2 separate regions of the Homo sapiens genome follow, and region 2 is linked to region 1. Evidence: promoter capture Hi-C in 16 types of primary human blood cells and fetal thymus (Javierre and others, 2016). All regions are on one chromosome and are shown on one strand. The core of a region is centred on a gene start or on the middle of the fragment in contact, and the rest is flanking DNA. Distances in the headings are between cores, read along the strand shown. Region 1 holds the start of WDR38 (WD repeat domain 38). Region 2 has its middle 4.9 kb from the start of PSMB7.

Region 1 (7,127 bases), core at 387-2,886:
TCACAAAAAGACAAATACTGTGTGACTCCACTTAGAGGCACCCAGAGAGGTCAGATTCATCGAGACAAAAAGAAAAACAGTGGTTGTCAGGGGCTGGGAGGAGGGAGATTGGGGACTTGTTTAGTGGGGACAGAGGTTCAGTTCTGCAAGAGGAAGAGCTCTGGAGATTGGTGTCACGACAATGTGAAGGTACTGGATTCTCTGAACTGTACACTTAAAAATGGACACAACAAAGCCGGTGCAGTGGCTCACGCCTTTAATCCCAGCACTTTGGGAGGCCGAGGTGGGTGGATCACGAGGTCAGGAGTTCAAGACCAGCCTGGCCAAGATGGTGAAACCCCGTCTCTACTAAAGATACAAAAAAATTAGCTGGGTGTGGTAGCAGGTGTCTATAATTCCAGCTACTCGAGAGGCTGAGGCAGAGAATTGCTTGAACCCAGGAGGCGGGGGTTGCAGTGAGCCGAGGTTGTCCAGCCTGGGTGACAGAGAGCGACTCTGTCACACACAAAAAAGGATGCAACAGTAAGTATTACTGTGTTACATTACAGTTGTTTTTGTATGTATGTGTGTGTGTGTGTGTGTTTTTAAAGAAGGCTGAGTCCAGGCCTGTTAGAGTCTAAGCCCCAGCACCCAGATATCTCGTCCCATCTCCCAACCTGCCCAGCCCTGCCTTGCACCCGTGCCCAGCTCATCGGAGGTCACTGCAGTCAGCTCTGCAGCATGCCAGACCCTTGTGCCTCGGTCTTCCCGGCCAGGTGTGGGAGCCCCACCTGTGTGGCCACCCAGCCTCCACAGCAGCTGCCCACTCCGGGTCTCCCAGCCATACACGCAGCCATCTTCTGAGCCTGTGAGCAGCATCTGGCCATCAGGGGAGAAGGCAGAAGAGTTGACCTAGAAACAGCACAAAAGCGGTCCCATTCTGGGGAAGAAACCCCTGTCCGCTCATCTCTGACCCCTAAACACTGCCCCCCAAGAGCCTGGGGTTGGAGCTTGACTTCAAGCCTCACTCCACCACCAGAGCCCAGAACCCGGGACCCACTGGGCCCTCTCTCGAGTCCCGTAAAGCCAGAGCCTGCAGTTGGAGGCAAGAGCCTTCTCTGGAACCAGAGCCTGGAACCCCAGAGCTAAGAGCCCATTCCAGAGCCGCAGCTGACAACGGAGAGTCCAGAATCTACTCTAAGTTCTGAGTTCACTTTAGAGCCAGGGCCCCAGAAAACACCAGAGTCAGCAGGGAGCTTTGTGCCCCTCTCGAGGCAGAGCCCAGAGCCCGGGGCTCTTTTTACAGGCAGAGCTTAGAACCTAGAGCTGCTCTGGAGCTGGGGCCCGGCACTGGAGCTGAGAACCTACTTCGATCCTTCTTGGGTTAGCAAAGTCTACTCTGGACTCAATGTCCTGAGCCACTGCCCAGAGAACATTCTGGAACCCCCACTACACAGAACCAGGAACCACTCTGCATCCAAAGCCGGGAGTCTGGGCAGAGCCCGCTGGACCTCACCTCCCCGCCGTGCTGGCCGAAGAATTTCACTCTCCGCACGGCCAGCGTGGCCGGGACCCCGCTGTTCATGGGCACCCGGCCCCGCCCCGCCCCGGCGGGCTCCCTCCTAGGCGGCCGCGGGACCCCAGGACTGGGCAGAGGAAAGAGGAAACTGTGTACAGGCGGTCTCCATGGTAATCGGGGCGGGGCGTGCGGCCATGGTGGGGTCCCTGCGAAGCCACGAGGACTGACAGGCAGGCCAGACCGCTTGCAGTTCGGCGGAGGTGGAGCCGCAGCAGGCGGGACCGCGGCGGGCTGGGAGAAGGGACTTCCCGCGCCAGCGGCTGCGCGTCCACTCTAGGGCAGCTCTCGCGCGGGGCAACACGGCAGGCAGAGCGGCCACTAGAGGGCGCGCCAGCCACACGCACCGCGCGGCCCAGAGCCCGGCCCCGCGCCCTGCGGACTGCGAACTGCAAGGGGTCCCTGCACCTCTTTGATACAGGGGAGCAACGAGCCTGTCTCCCCATCTGCACAACCGGGAGCATCAGCCCTGCCCCACAGGACTCCAGGGGTGAGCCAAGCACAGGGCCTGGCACACGGTAGATGCCCAAGAGGGCCCCCTCAGGAGCCAATACCCCTTCCGTCCAGGAGTGGCCAGTACTGAGGTTAAGGATGTCCCAGGAGAGCGCTGGGGACAGTAGCCAGCTCTGTCCTCCAGGGCGTGGAAGCCAGAGGTAGTGTGTGTAAAGTACATGGCATTAAAAGTGGGGTCACGTTGCTGTTAACATTCCTGGCAGCACAAAATGTGCCATCTGAGGATGGGGTGGAGGCTGGGGCTGGGGGGCAGTTGCCCAGGAGCTGCCAGGATCCTTACCGGATAGCGCAATCTGAAGCTTGGAACGAGCAGGACTTGGTTTCATTGTTAATTTACAGGTGAAGAAACTCACCCGGAGAGCTGGGAGGACTTGCTCAGAGCCACTCAGCCAGTAGGAGTGGAACTGGGATTTCAGCCCATGGCTGTCTGACTCTGGGTGTCTGTACTGGGACCACCTGCCATGAACTCCAGGGACCTCTCAGCAGATGTTGAGGTCCGCAACTCCTGGTACATCTGGGAAACTGAGGTCCGAAGGGGGCAGGACTTGGCCCAGCCATCTAGCCGGTGCTTCCATGGCAGAGCTGGGGCAGGACCCAGTCTCCCCACTCCCACAGCAGGACAGGGAGGGAACAGAGGACCCCCCACCTGCCCCGCCCATGGATTCTAGGCTCCCTGGGGGCAGGGGTGGAGCAGCTGGGCTTTGGGAGCTTCAAACTCAAGAGTTCCCAGCGGCGACTCACACCCTCCCCCCCTAAACCTCTTTGCCAGAAACTTCTCAGGAGATCCGCTGTGCTCCTGCTATTTTAAGTCCCAGACAGTCAGGCGGGTGAGGGAGCGACAATGACAGCTTTGAGGCAGTCCCACTCCATCCCAGATCCCAGAGGGCCTAGGTCACTGTGGGACCCTTCTGAGCTGGGCCTATAAAGCTGTCCCCCCACACCCAGATGTGGCTCCCAGACACAGCTCCCCAGAGCTACTATTCCCTGGCCCTCTGGCTCTCCTGCTCAGGCACCCCCCCAACCCATGCCCCGGCCCTGGGCACATTGTCTAGCCACTTGGTTGCTCCTGCTCTATCCAGAGGGCCCAGAGCCACCTTCCCCAGCCCAGCCCTTCACTCCCAGAACCCTCAGGGTAGACCTTGTCCACCAGGCCCAGTGACTGCTTGGCCGAAGGGGTGGAGCTGGGGTCGAAACCCGTGGGCTTGGCTCAGGCATCTGTAGGTGGAACCACCAACGTGAATGCCAGGGTCCGGAGGATCATCTCCGCGGATGAAGTGGTGGAGAAGTTTCTGCCAGTTTTCCACCACTGACTATCTCTTCCTTCTCCTCAGGGAGCCTGCCGCCTTCTCTCCTGTATTTGGCCAGGCTGTCCAGGGAGAGGGCTCTACCAAGATGTCCAGGATGGATGCCGCGCTGGCTTTTCTCACTGTCACTCCATTCCCTGAAGGGGACTGGAGGTCCTGGACCAGCCTTGCCTCTCCTCAGCTACGCATGTCAACCTTAAAACACCCCACAGGGCCAGGCATGGTGTTTCATGCCAGCAATCCTAGCTCTTTGGGAGACCAAAGCAGGCAGATCATTTGAGGCCAGGAGTTCAAGACCAGCTTGGGCAAGATGGTGAAACCCCATCTCTACTAAAAACAAAACAACAACGACAACAAACCTCACAAACATCTGTTCAGCAAAAAAAAAGAAAGAAAGAAAGAAAACAATCAAGGCAGGCAAAAAAGAACCCTCTATTTATTTGGATAAGAAAAGCAAGCAAAACCCCCAAATCTCCAGAGTGGTCAACTCTCAGGAGAGGAAGGGAGGGACTAGAAAAGGCAGGACCCTTGGGGTTTTGAGGAGCCACATTCCAGCTCTAAGCTGGGCAGGGGCCCCAGGTATCTGTTGAATTGTTCTTAAAGAATCGGCCCCGCCTGTCTGGCCCCTGCCTGCCTGTCCTTACTCTTCCTGGCTTCCTTGCCCTGCCCCATTTCTTATACCCTACCTGCAGTCCTACCCCAAGTCTGGAACAGTTTAGTGGGGAGCCAGCATTTCCTGACCGGTGCCCCAAGAAGCAGAGAATGTTGTTTTGTGGCAAGAGAGGAAGTAGGAGAGGGAGTTGGAGAGCCTAATTGCCCTGGTTTCTTCGAGGTTCCAGCTCCCAGCTCCAATACCTGAGCTGCTCCTCCTGCCCTCTAGGTTTTTTTTTTTTCTAAGATGGAGTCTCTGTCTCCCGGGCTGGCTGGAGTGCAGTGGCGCGATCTGGGCTCACTGCAACCTCTGCTTCCTGGGTTTAGGCAATTCTCCTGCCTCAGCCTCCCGAGTAGCTGGGATTACAGGCACCTGCCACCATGCCCAGCTAATTTTTGTATTTTTAGTAGAGATGGGGTTTCACCATGTTGGCCAGGCTGGTCTCAAACTCCTGACCTCGTGATCCACCCACCTCGGCCTCCCAAAGTGCTGGGATTATAGGCATGAGCCACCGCGCCGTGCCTGCCCTCCAGGTTTTAAAACATACCTGTTCCCAGCCAGATGCAGTGGCTCACCCCTGTAATCCCAGCACTTTGGGAGGCCGAGGCAGGCAGATCACGAGGTCAGGAGTTCGAGACCAGCCTGGCCAACATGGTGAAACCCTGTCTACTAAAAATACAAAATTTAGCCGGACACGTGATCCGCCTGCCTTGGCCTCCCAAAGTGCTGGGATTACAGGCGTGAGCCACCGCACCTGGCCTGTCATTATCCCTCTTAAAAAGTGTGTGGACCAGAACTAGAACCATGCTCACTGTTTGGACTGACAACCACCAAGCTGAAAGGTACTGTCATCTCCAGTTTCCTAGACACTCCATCTCTAGTAATGCAGTCTGCATTACTAGAGGCATTTATGTTTCCAAGAGCTATGTTATTCACTGCAAATGCACGAGAGCTTTTTCCCATGAACTGCTGTCCAGCCAGCCCTCCCTCCCCTGTCTGGTACTCACACAATGAGTTCTTCGGAAACGCACGCAAGACCTTACATTATGCTGGTTAAAGGTCATCTTCTTGGCCCCCATCCAGCCGTCTAGTCTTGAAAGCATTTTAAAAGTCCCACTTCTATTGCACAAAGCATTAATTCTGCTGCTGTGGCAGCTGCAAATTTTATGAGCGGGCCTGTGTTCTGGTCCAGATTGGGGAAATGATCAACATGACAGGGGTAAGAACAGAGCCACGGCCGAGCGTGGTGGCTCACGCCTGTAATCCCAGAACTTTGGGAGGCCGAGGCGGGTACATCACCTGAGGTCAGGAGTTCGAGACCAGCCTGGCCAACATGGTGAAACCCTGTCTGTACTAAAAATACAAAACTTAGCCGGGCATGGTGGCATGTGCCTGTCATCCCAGCTACTCGGGAGGCTGAGGCAGGAGAATTGCTTGAACCTGGGAGGCAGAGGTTGCAGTGAGCTGAGATGGCGCCACTGCACTCCAGCCTGGATGATGAGAGCGAAATTCCATCTCAAAAGCAAACAAACAAACAAAAAACAGAGCCCTTTGGTCTATCACTAGAGACCTCCAGTGATTATCTTTTTTGCCTCCATCCATCAGAGTCATGGGCTAACCATGGGGTCAGGGAGGGTACAGTCCCTTAGGAAAGGTCCGGGTGGGGAGGAAAGTAATTTAGATTCTTTTTTTTTTTTTTTTTTGAGACAGAGTTTTGCTCTTGTTGCCCAAGTTGGAGTGCAATGGTGCAATCTCGGCTCACTGCAACCTCCGCCCCCTGGGTTCAAGAGATTCTCCTGCCTCAGCCTCCCAAGTAGCTGGGATTACAGGCACCCACCACCACACCTGGCTAATTTTTGTACTTTTAGTAGAGATGGGGTTTCACCATGTTGGCCAGGCTGGTCTCAAACTCCAGACATCAGGTGATCCACCCACCTCAGCCTCCCAAAGTGCTGGGATTACAGGCGTGAGCCACCGCACCCTGGTGGTAATGTAGATTCTACCTCAAGCAGGGTTCTCTGGTTGCAAACAACAGAAACCATGGATGGCCAAAAGGGACCAAGAAGCTCTGGGATGACGGATTGGAAAGACAGCAACACTGTCACACCAGGGAAGGGCAGGAAGCAGTGCTACTCACTCATCCCGGGAGCAGCCCAGCAAATCAGGATCCTCAGAGAGCTCGTGATTGACCCAGCTGGGGTCAGGTACCCACTTCTCGGTGAGGGGAGGGCTGTCCAGATTAAGACCTGGGATTCTTCCCCCACCTCCACCCTGGTCTGTGAATCAATCAGGAAGCTCTAGTTCAGCTTAAAACCAGCTGTCACCTGTGTAGCCTCAGAAGCCAGGCAGCTGCACCCTGATCTGACTCCGTCACCTACCACCTGTGACCTCGGGCCAGTTACTTAATGCTTCCGTGCCTCCTTTTCCTCACCTCTAAAATCAGGATAATAATTAGTACCTGCTGCATGAGGTTGGCTTTGAGGATTAATGTATGTAAAGTGCTTGGAACGGCACCTGTGCATGGTTAGCTGGGCTATCATGAAAGCGTTATCATCTCATGAGTCCACCATTTTTTACTGTAGCCCCAAAGATACCAAGAAAGGCTCCCTGGCCAGGCACGGTGGCTCACAGCTGTAATCCCAGCACTTTGGGAGGCTGAGGCAGGCAGATCACTTGAGGTCAGGAGTTCGAGACCAGCCTGGCCAACATGGTGAAACTCCATTTCTACTAAAACTGCAAAAATTTATACTAAAAAATGCAAAAAAATATATAGCCAGGCATAGTGGCATGCATCTATAGTCCCAGCTACTTGGGAAGCTGAGGCAGGAGAATCGCTTGAACCCAGAAGTCAGAGGTTGCAGTGAGCTGAGATCACACCACTGCACTCCAGCCTGGCGAGAAAGCGAGACTCCGTCTCAGAAAAAAAAAAAAACCCAAAAACGAAAAACAAACAAAAAAAACGCTTAATGTCACTAATCACTGGGAAAATGCAAATCAAAACCACAATGAGATATCATCTCACCCCAGTTAAAATGGTTTTTATCAAAAAGACAGAAAATAGGGCCAGGCAAGGTGGCTCACCCCTGCTATCCCAGCACTTTAG
Region 2 (7,127 bases), core at 3,426-5,925, 430 kb after region 1:
GTCACCACCCTACTTCAGGCTACCTTCCTCTCCTCCCTGATCTGTGGCCGGAGCACCCCCACCGCCCCTGCTCTCCCACTTTCATTCTCTCCCTGTCCATCCGTCCTCCCACGGGCTGCCGGAGTGGTTTTCACACACTGTGATGTGTCAGCCTCTGTCCCCTGCCTCCTACTCTGGGATGCCCGGTTTCCAGCTGCCCACGCCCTCTTACTCCTCTCATCTTCTGTTCTCCAACAAGCCCAGCTGTTTCCCGCCTCCACGGATCTGCTCACACTGTCCCCTCCTTCTGGAATTGCCCACTCTCTTCTCGCTGCAACCCCAGCTAGCCAACCCCTGCTCCTCTTCTGCGTCCTGTTTACAGTCTCCTGTTTTCCTCAGAGCATTTGCTGCTGCTGTTCCTCCCCTGGGGGAGTTGACTTTTTCTCTCCTTGGAATCTCTGTAATCCACACAGTCTCTATCAGAACCTTCTGATCCTTTTACTTGCTTATTTATTTCTGTATCCATTTCTCTTGAGGGCAGAGTCTTTGTTTTCTTGTGCGTCGCATGGTACCAGACACAGGATTGGAGTTTATGTAAGGAACATCTGAAGGAGTGAATGAATGAGTGAATGAATGGAGCAGCATTTACCTAGGGCGAGGCAGGTCTGAAGCATGGAGAAGATAATGGGGCTGGATGTGTCTGGGTCCGGGAGACACATTCAGAGATGGATCCTGCAAGATTTGATGGAGAAAGCACCCGTGGTTCAGCAGCCTTCAGAATACCTTGTCCCGGGTGATGAGCCCTGTTCAAACCCCCACGTCAAGCAGGAAACCCGTTTTCTCTAGAGGTCATGTTGATTCTCTGCTCAAAAGCATTCCATGGAGGCTGGGGTGGTGGCTCACGCCTCTAATCCCAGCACTTTGGGAGGCCAAGGTGGGTGGATCGCTTGAGGTCAGGAGTTCAAGGCCAGCCTGGCCAACATGGTGAAACCCCATCTCTATAAAAATACAAAAATCAGCTGGGTGTGGTGGTGCACACCTATAATCCTGGCTACTTGGGAGGCTGAGGCAGGAGGGTTGCTTGAACCCTGGAGGCGGAGGCTGCAGTGAGCAGAGATCCCACTACTGCACTTCAGCCTGGGTGACAGAGCAAGACTCCATCTCAAAAAAAAAAAAAAAACTGATGGCTTCCCAATGTCCTTGCGATAGGCCCAGGCTTCTGAGCCAGCCTGCAAGGATTTTCTTCTTTTTGTTTTGAGACAGTGTCACTCGGTCGCCCAGACTGGAGTGCAGTGGTGAAATCTTGGCTCACTGCAACCTCCACTTCCTGGGTTCAAGTGATTCTCATGCCTGAGCCTCCCAAGTAGCTGAGATTACAGATGTGCACCACCAAGCCCGGCTAATTTTTTTGGTATTTTTCGTAGAGACAGGGTTTCACCATGTTAGCCAGGCTGGTCTTGAACTCCTGACCTCAGGTGATCTGCCCGCCTCAGCTTCCCAAAGTGCTGGGATTACAGGCATGAGCCACCACGCCTGGCCTCTACAAGGCCCTTCTTAACTGGGGCCTGGCCAGCTGGCCACATTGCCCCTGGCCCATAACCGGACTGATCTGCCTGCTATCCTGCCAGCCGGATGGCGCTACCACACCTCCGAGCCTTTATCTCTCTGTCTTGAATGCTTTTTTCTTGAATGCTTTATCTGCTCTCTCTGTCTTGAATGCTTTTTTCTTGAATGCTTTATCTGCTCTCTCTGTCTCGAATGCTTTTTTCCTTCTCTCCACTGCCATTCTCCAAGACTCTGTTACAGCTTCACTTCCTCCAAGAAGTCTGCCCAGGCCCTCCAGGCAATTGTGTCTCCCCGAATCTTCCCCTCTTTAGGGAAAGTAATTCCACTCTCTGCAGCCTGCCTTCCACAGACCCAAGTCTCAGCCTTGACTGTCCTCCCTGTGAAGCTGTGGGTCGGGCCCTGGTCCTTCTGAGTCTCAGCTCCTTTTTCTGTTCCTTCCCCCTTAAAGGATCCCACCTGCTGTTCCCTCCCTCGGAAATTATTAAGAGAATCAGGTATGCTAAAAGGAGAGGCTGGGATTAAGAACATGAGCTTTAACCAGGACAGGCTTGGGTTCAAATTCCAGTTCTCTTGCTGACCAACTGCGTGACCTTGTGTTACAACTCCTGTCTCCAAGTGGAGAGTCCCCTACCTGTAAGCTGGAAACCTCAGATGGTGTTTTGATGAATGAATTGGGTTGTGGCATGGAAGGTGATTACCGTAGCACCTGGCATAGAGAAAGGATTCAGTAAATAGATGTTAAACATGATGATTAAACCAGGTGGGGAGAGTGTTTGGTTGTTGGAACCCACTGAGGAAGTGCGGAGTATTCTCATGATTTCACTGTGACTTGAACAGCCCCTGGATACGAAGAAGGGAGGGATGCCCCCTCCTGCTCTCCAGCAGCTGGAGTTGGCAAACTCAGGGCCCAGCCGTCCCAGGCCTTGCTCACAGTGGTGGGGATTCTGGAGGTCTCAGGTGGGCCCCAAAATCTGCTCAGCACCCCAATAGAGTCTGGATGGGTGGTAGGAATCCACACTTTGAGATGCTGCCCTGTGCCGTGCTGCGCCCCTCCCATGGGAGCTGTGTTTCTGTGGCCCATGCAGCGAGGCTTGGCACCTGGGTGCTGTGCCAGGGGCCCTGGAGCCTGGAGCAGCTGCTGTAATTTATGCAAAGGAAGGCGCCCAGGTCTGCCCTGTCTATTTATAGCTTATTTATGAAGAAGGAAAAACAAGGGCCCAGTTGCCATAGCAACCAGGAGCATCATGGGCTGCTTTCCCTGCAAGAGGAAGATGGCCAAGTCTCCTTGAAGGGTGCACCCTCAGATGTGTTTACCGTGACAGAGGATGCAGGTGGGCCTTTGAGGGCCTGTCCCATGCTGGGTTCCTGGGCAGCCTGCAGGGTGGGTGGGGTGGGGGGTGCTGCTTATTGGGCTCTTGGAAAATCCAGGGTGATGCCAGGGCCACGCACAGCTGAGCTCTCGGCAGCATGAGATGCACCCTCGTCCCCTGGTCTTGATGCTAACTCTTGTCCTCTGGGTGCCCACCTGCAGCCTCAGGCAGACTTGGAAGCTCTTTCCCTGGCTGTGCTCTGGCTCGTGTCCTTTAGGGCACTTAGCACAGTGAACTGGAGGCCTAGACGCCAGACCAATGCCCCCAAGGCTGTCATCTAGCACAGGGTTGGCACCAAGCTTGGCACCAAGGAAGGGTTTAATAAATAATGAATACATGAAGTGTTGTATAGTTTACGATGCGTGTTCTTATTCGATGCGTGTGGGGCAGGATAAGCACTGCAACAGTCTGTCATTTTACAGATGAGGAAACTGAACTTCGGAGAGGTCAAGACACCAGCCTAAGGTCCTGCAGCTGGCAAGTAGCTGAGCTGGCCTGAGTCCTGGAGGAGGAAACCCCACCTGTGTGCTGGCAGAATACGAGGGAACTTGGGTTCCGGTTGGAACTCGGGTTCCAGTTGGGCCCTTATTGTCAGGGGTGGGGGAAGTGGTGCTGTGTGTGGTCTGTGGCTGGGAGGGGTGTGGTTTGACTCTCAAGTCATATCAGCGGTATGACCTTGAGCTAGTGACTTCACCTCTCCGGGCCTTGGTTGCCTCATCTATAAAGTGGGGCCATGATGCCTGGTCCCTGGGGACTGCCAGCTCCCTGAGGACAGGCTCTGTGTCTGTCTCTTGATTGTGCTTTCCTACTGCCTGGCACATTCTAGGTGTCCAGGGTGATCATGAGATCCTGCACACAGAATGGCTGGGTCCAAGCCCAGGATGTTGAGTGCTCTCAGGGACTGTTGGTTGTTACTGTGTTATTTGGGAACTGAGGCACAGAGAGCCTGATGGCTCTCCTGAGGTCACCCAGCCAAATCCACAGCAGAAGTGGTGGCTTCACTGGTGAGTTGGGGTTGGTAGCACTGCCAGGGATGAAGTGGGACTGTGTCCAGGCCCAGGGGAGGGCCAGCTGGGCTGGGCTGCAGTCCCAGGGGGCAGCAGCCATGCTGGGCAGGGAGGCCGAGTGGGGATCTCTGAGTGCTAGGGATCTAGGGTTGCCCTCCACATGCCTGGAGGTGCAGAGGCTGCCCCCATCCCTGCCCGGCTGCCCCCATCCCCGCCCGGCTGACTCCCTTGCTTTATGTCCAGGCCGCCTGGAGGCTCTTGGTCGCCCTCTGCTGGGCTCTGAGTGCCTCTGCGGGGCCACCTCCAGAGGCTGTAAGAGGAAACAATGTCCCCTCCTCAGCCCAGTCTGGGTGTGAAAAATCAAAGATACCAAAGAAACCCAGGTAGGAAGAGAAAGTTCCCTCAAGCAAATCGAGGTCACAGATCATTTCTACAACGGCTTTCCTAGCTCTCTGTGCTGTGCCCGGGGCCCTGGCTTCTCTTTTTTTTTTTTTTTGAAACAGACTCTGGCTTTGTTGCCCAGGCTGGAGTGCAGTGGTGTGATCTCAGCTCACTGCAACCTCCGCCTCCCAGGTTCAAGCAATCCTCCCACCTCAGCCTCCCAAGTAGCTGAGATTACAAGCGGGCGCCACCACACCCAGCTAACTTTTGTATTTTTAGTAGAGACGGGGTTTCACCATGCTGGCCACGCTAGTCTTGAACACCTGACCTCGAGTGATCTGCCTGCCTGGGCCTCCCAAAGTGCTGGGATTACAGGCATGAGCCACCACGCCTGGCTGGGCCCTGGCTTCCTAGCTCCCACTGAGACCCTACGGCGGGACTCAGGCACCCACCACCACCCCCCGGAGGCTGCAGGTACCACTGCAGAAGCCTCACGACTGTTTCCTAAAAACCATGTCCAGGGTTTTCGGTTTGGTTTTGTTTTTGGCACATCTCAAGCCTTCGCCCACGTGCCTGACCCTCTTGCCTTGTCGTCCCGATGGGCTCCACACCGTCTGAGCCTCTAGGCTTCCCTAGAGTGTGTGCCCCCCACTCGCATTCCCATGCTTCCCCCGCCTGGCAGTTGGCACACAGCGCTGGGAGTCTTTCTTTTCTGAGACTTCCTCTCCTCCCCTGGACTGTGAGCTCAGGAGGTGTCTGAGTTTCCTAGCTCTGTTATAACAAAGTACCACAATCTGGGTGGCTGAAACACCAGAAATTTATTGTCTCACCATTCTGGAGGGTGCAAGTCCAAAGCAAGGTGTCTGCAAAGTTGCTTCTTCTGAGAGCCGTGAGGCAGACTGTTCCAGACCTGGCGCCTAGCTTCTGGTGGTTTGATGGCAACTTTTGGCATTCCTTGGCCCATAGGATCATCACTCCAGTGTCTACCTTCATCTTCATATGGGGTTCTCCCTGTGTGCATGTCTGTCTCCAAATTGCCAATTTTTTTTTTTTTTTTTAGACAGAGTCTTTCTCTGTTGCCCAGGTTGGAGTGCAGTGGCATGATTTTGGCTCACTGCAACCTCCTCCTCCCAGGTTCGAGTGATTCCCCTGCCTCAGCCTCTTGAGTAGCTGGGATTACAGGCGCCCACCACAATGCCCAGCTAATTTTTGTATTTTTAGTAGAGACGTGGTTTCACCATGTTGGCTAGGCTGGTCTTGAACGCCTGATCTCAAGTGATCCACCTGCCTTGGCCTCCCAAAGTGTTGGGATTACAGGTGTGAGACACCATGCCCGACCCAAATTTCCAATTTTTATAAGGACGCCAGTCCTGTTGGATTAGGGCCTAGTGACCTCATTTTTAACTTGATTACCTCTGTAATATCAAATCAAATTCAATTCATTTGGAATACTTCCAAGTAAGGTCAGCTACTGAGTTACTAGGGGCTAGAACTGCAGAATATGAATTTATTTCCCTAATTTCAACGGAAAACTCAGAGGTAACGAAAGGGAATTCAACCTTTGACAAATGTTTATTAAACACACAGTTGTGATAGACACTGGTTCTAGGTGCTTCATTCATTCATTTGCACCTAGAACCATGTCTGACGCATAATGGGAGCTCAATAAATATTTGTTGAGTGAATAAATTAATTCATTCCACAGTCATTCAGGCTGTAAAAGGAGCCTTCAATTCCCTCAGTAAAATGAGTTGAATTACATAATTATCTCTTAGGTTTGTTGACAGGATGAAATGAATGTATTATTAATAATAACTATTTATAAGAAGCTTCTACATGCTAAGATAGATGGTCTTCATGTACAATGTTTAATACTCACAATAGCCTTATTAAAATGAAATTCACTGGCAAGGCATTGTGGCTCATGCCTGTAATCCCAGCACTTTGGGAGGCTGAGGTGGGCAGATCACTTGAGGTCTGGAGTTCGAGACCAGCCTGGCCAACATGGTGAAACCCTGTCTCTACTAAAAATACAAAAATTAGTCAGGCGTGGTGGCATATGCCTGTAATCCCAGCTACTTGGGAGGCTGAGGCATGAGAATCACTTGAACCCAGGAGGTGGAGGTTGCAGTGAGCTGAGATCATGCCACTGCACTCCAGCCTGGGTGATAGAGGGAGACCGAGTCTCAAAAAAATAAATAAATAAATAAAATAAAATAAAATAAAATAAAATTCACCTAACGTAGAAGTCACCATTTTAACCATTTTAAAGTGTGCAACTCAGTGGTTTTTAGTGTATTCATAATATCGTGCAACCAATACCACTATGTAATTCCAGAATATTTTCATCATTTTCCAAAAACTCTGCGCCCACTAAACAGTCCTATCCATTCTCTCCTCCTCCCCTAACCCTTAGCAACCAAACATCTACTTTCTGTCTGTGGATTTGCCTATTAAGAACACTTCACATACATGGAATGATACACTATGTGGCCTTTTGTGCCTGGCTTCTTTCCCTCAGTATATTTTTAAGGTCCATCCCTGTTGTAACATGTATCTGTGCTTCAGACTTCTTTATGGTCTAATAATATTCCATTAAATGAATTTACCATATTTTGTTTATCCATTCATCAGTGGATGGACATTTGTTTCCATTATTTGGCTATTGTGAATAATGAGACCCCCCCCTCGCTTTTTTTTTTGAGACGGAGTCTCTGCTCTGTTGCCCAGGCTGGAGTGCAGTGGCGTGATCTCAGCTCACTGCAACTTCTGCCTCCCTGGTTCGAGCTATTCTCCTGCCTCGGCCTCCTGACTAGCTGGGACT

Evidence for each region. Contacts are between HindIII fragments. The CHiCAGO score rates a contact against its expected background, and 5 or more counts as called.
Region 2: a fragment that was not itself captured here is called in contact with the fragment with the promoter of WDR38 in region 1 in 1 of 17 cell types (neutrophils); the score reaches 8.4 in neutrophils.

Annotation. Positions count from the first base shown.
Region 1 is chr9:124,847,969-124,855,095 of GRCh38, reverse strand. It overlaps WDR38 (WD repeat domain 38), which reads right to left and starts at 1,636. Exons shown (of 9, transcript NM_001045476.3): 1 at 1,496-1,636; 2 at 771-891. The coding sequence starts at 1,564. RefSeq lists a silencer at 1,535-1,584. The HindIII fragment of the contact is 17,878 bases long and covers 1-2,369 here.
Region 2 is chr9:124,416,798-124,423,924 of GRCh38, reverse strand. No RefSeq gene overlaps it. Among named protein-coding and RNA genes, the nearest start is that of PSMB7, 4.9 kb to the right of the region's middle. The HindIII fragment of the contact is 2,918 bases long and covers 3,217-6,134 here.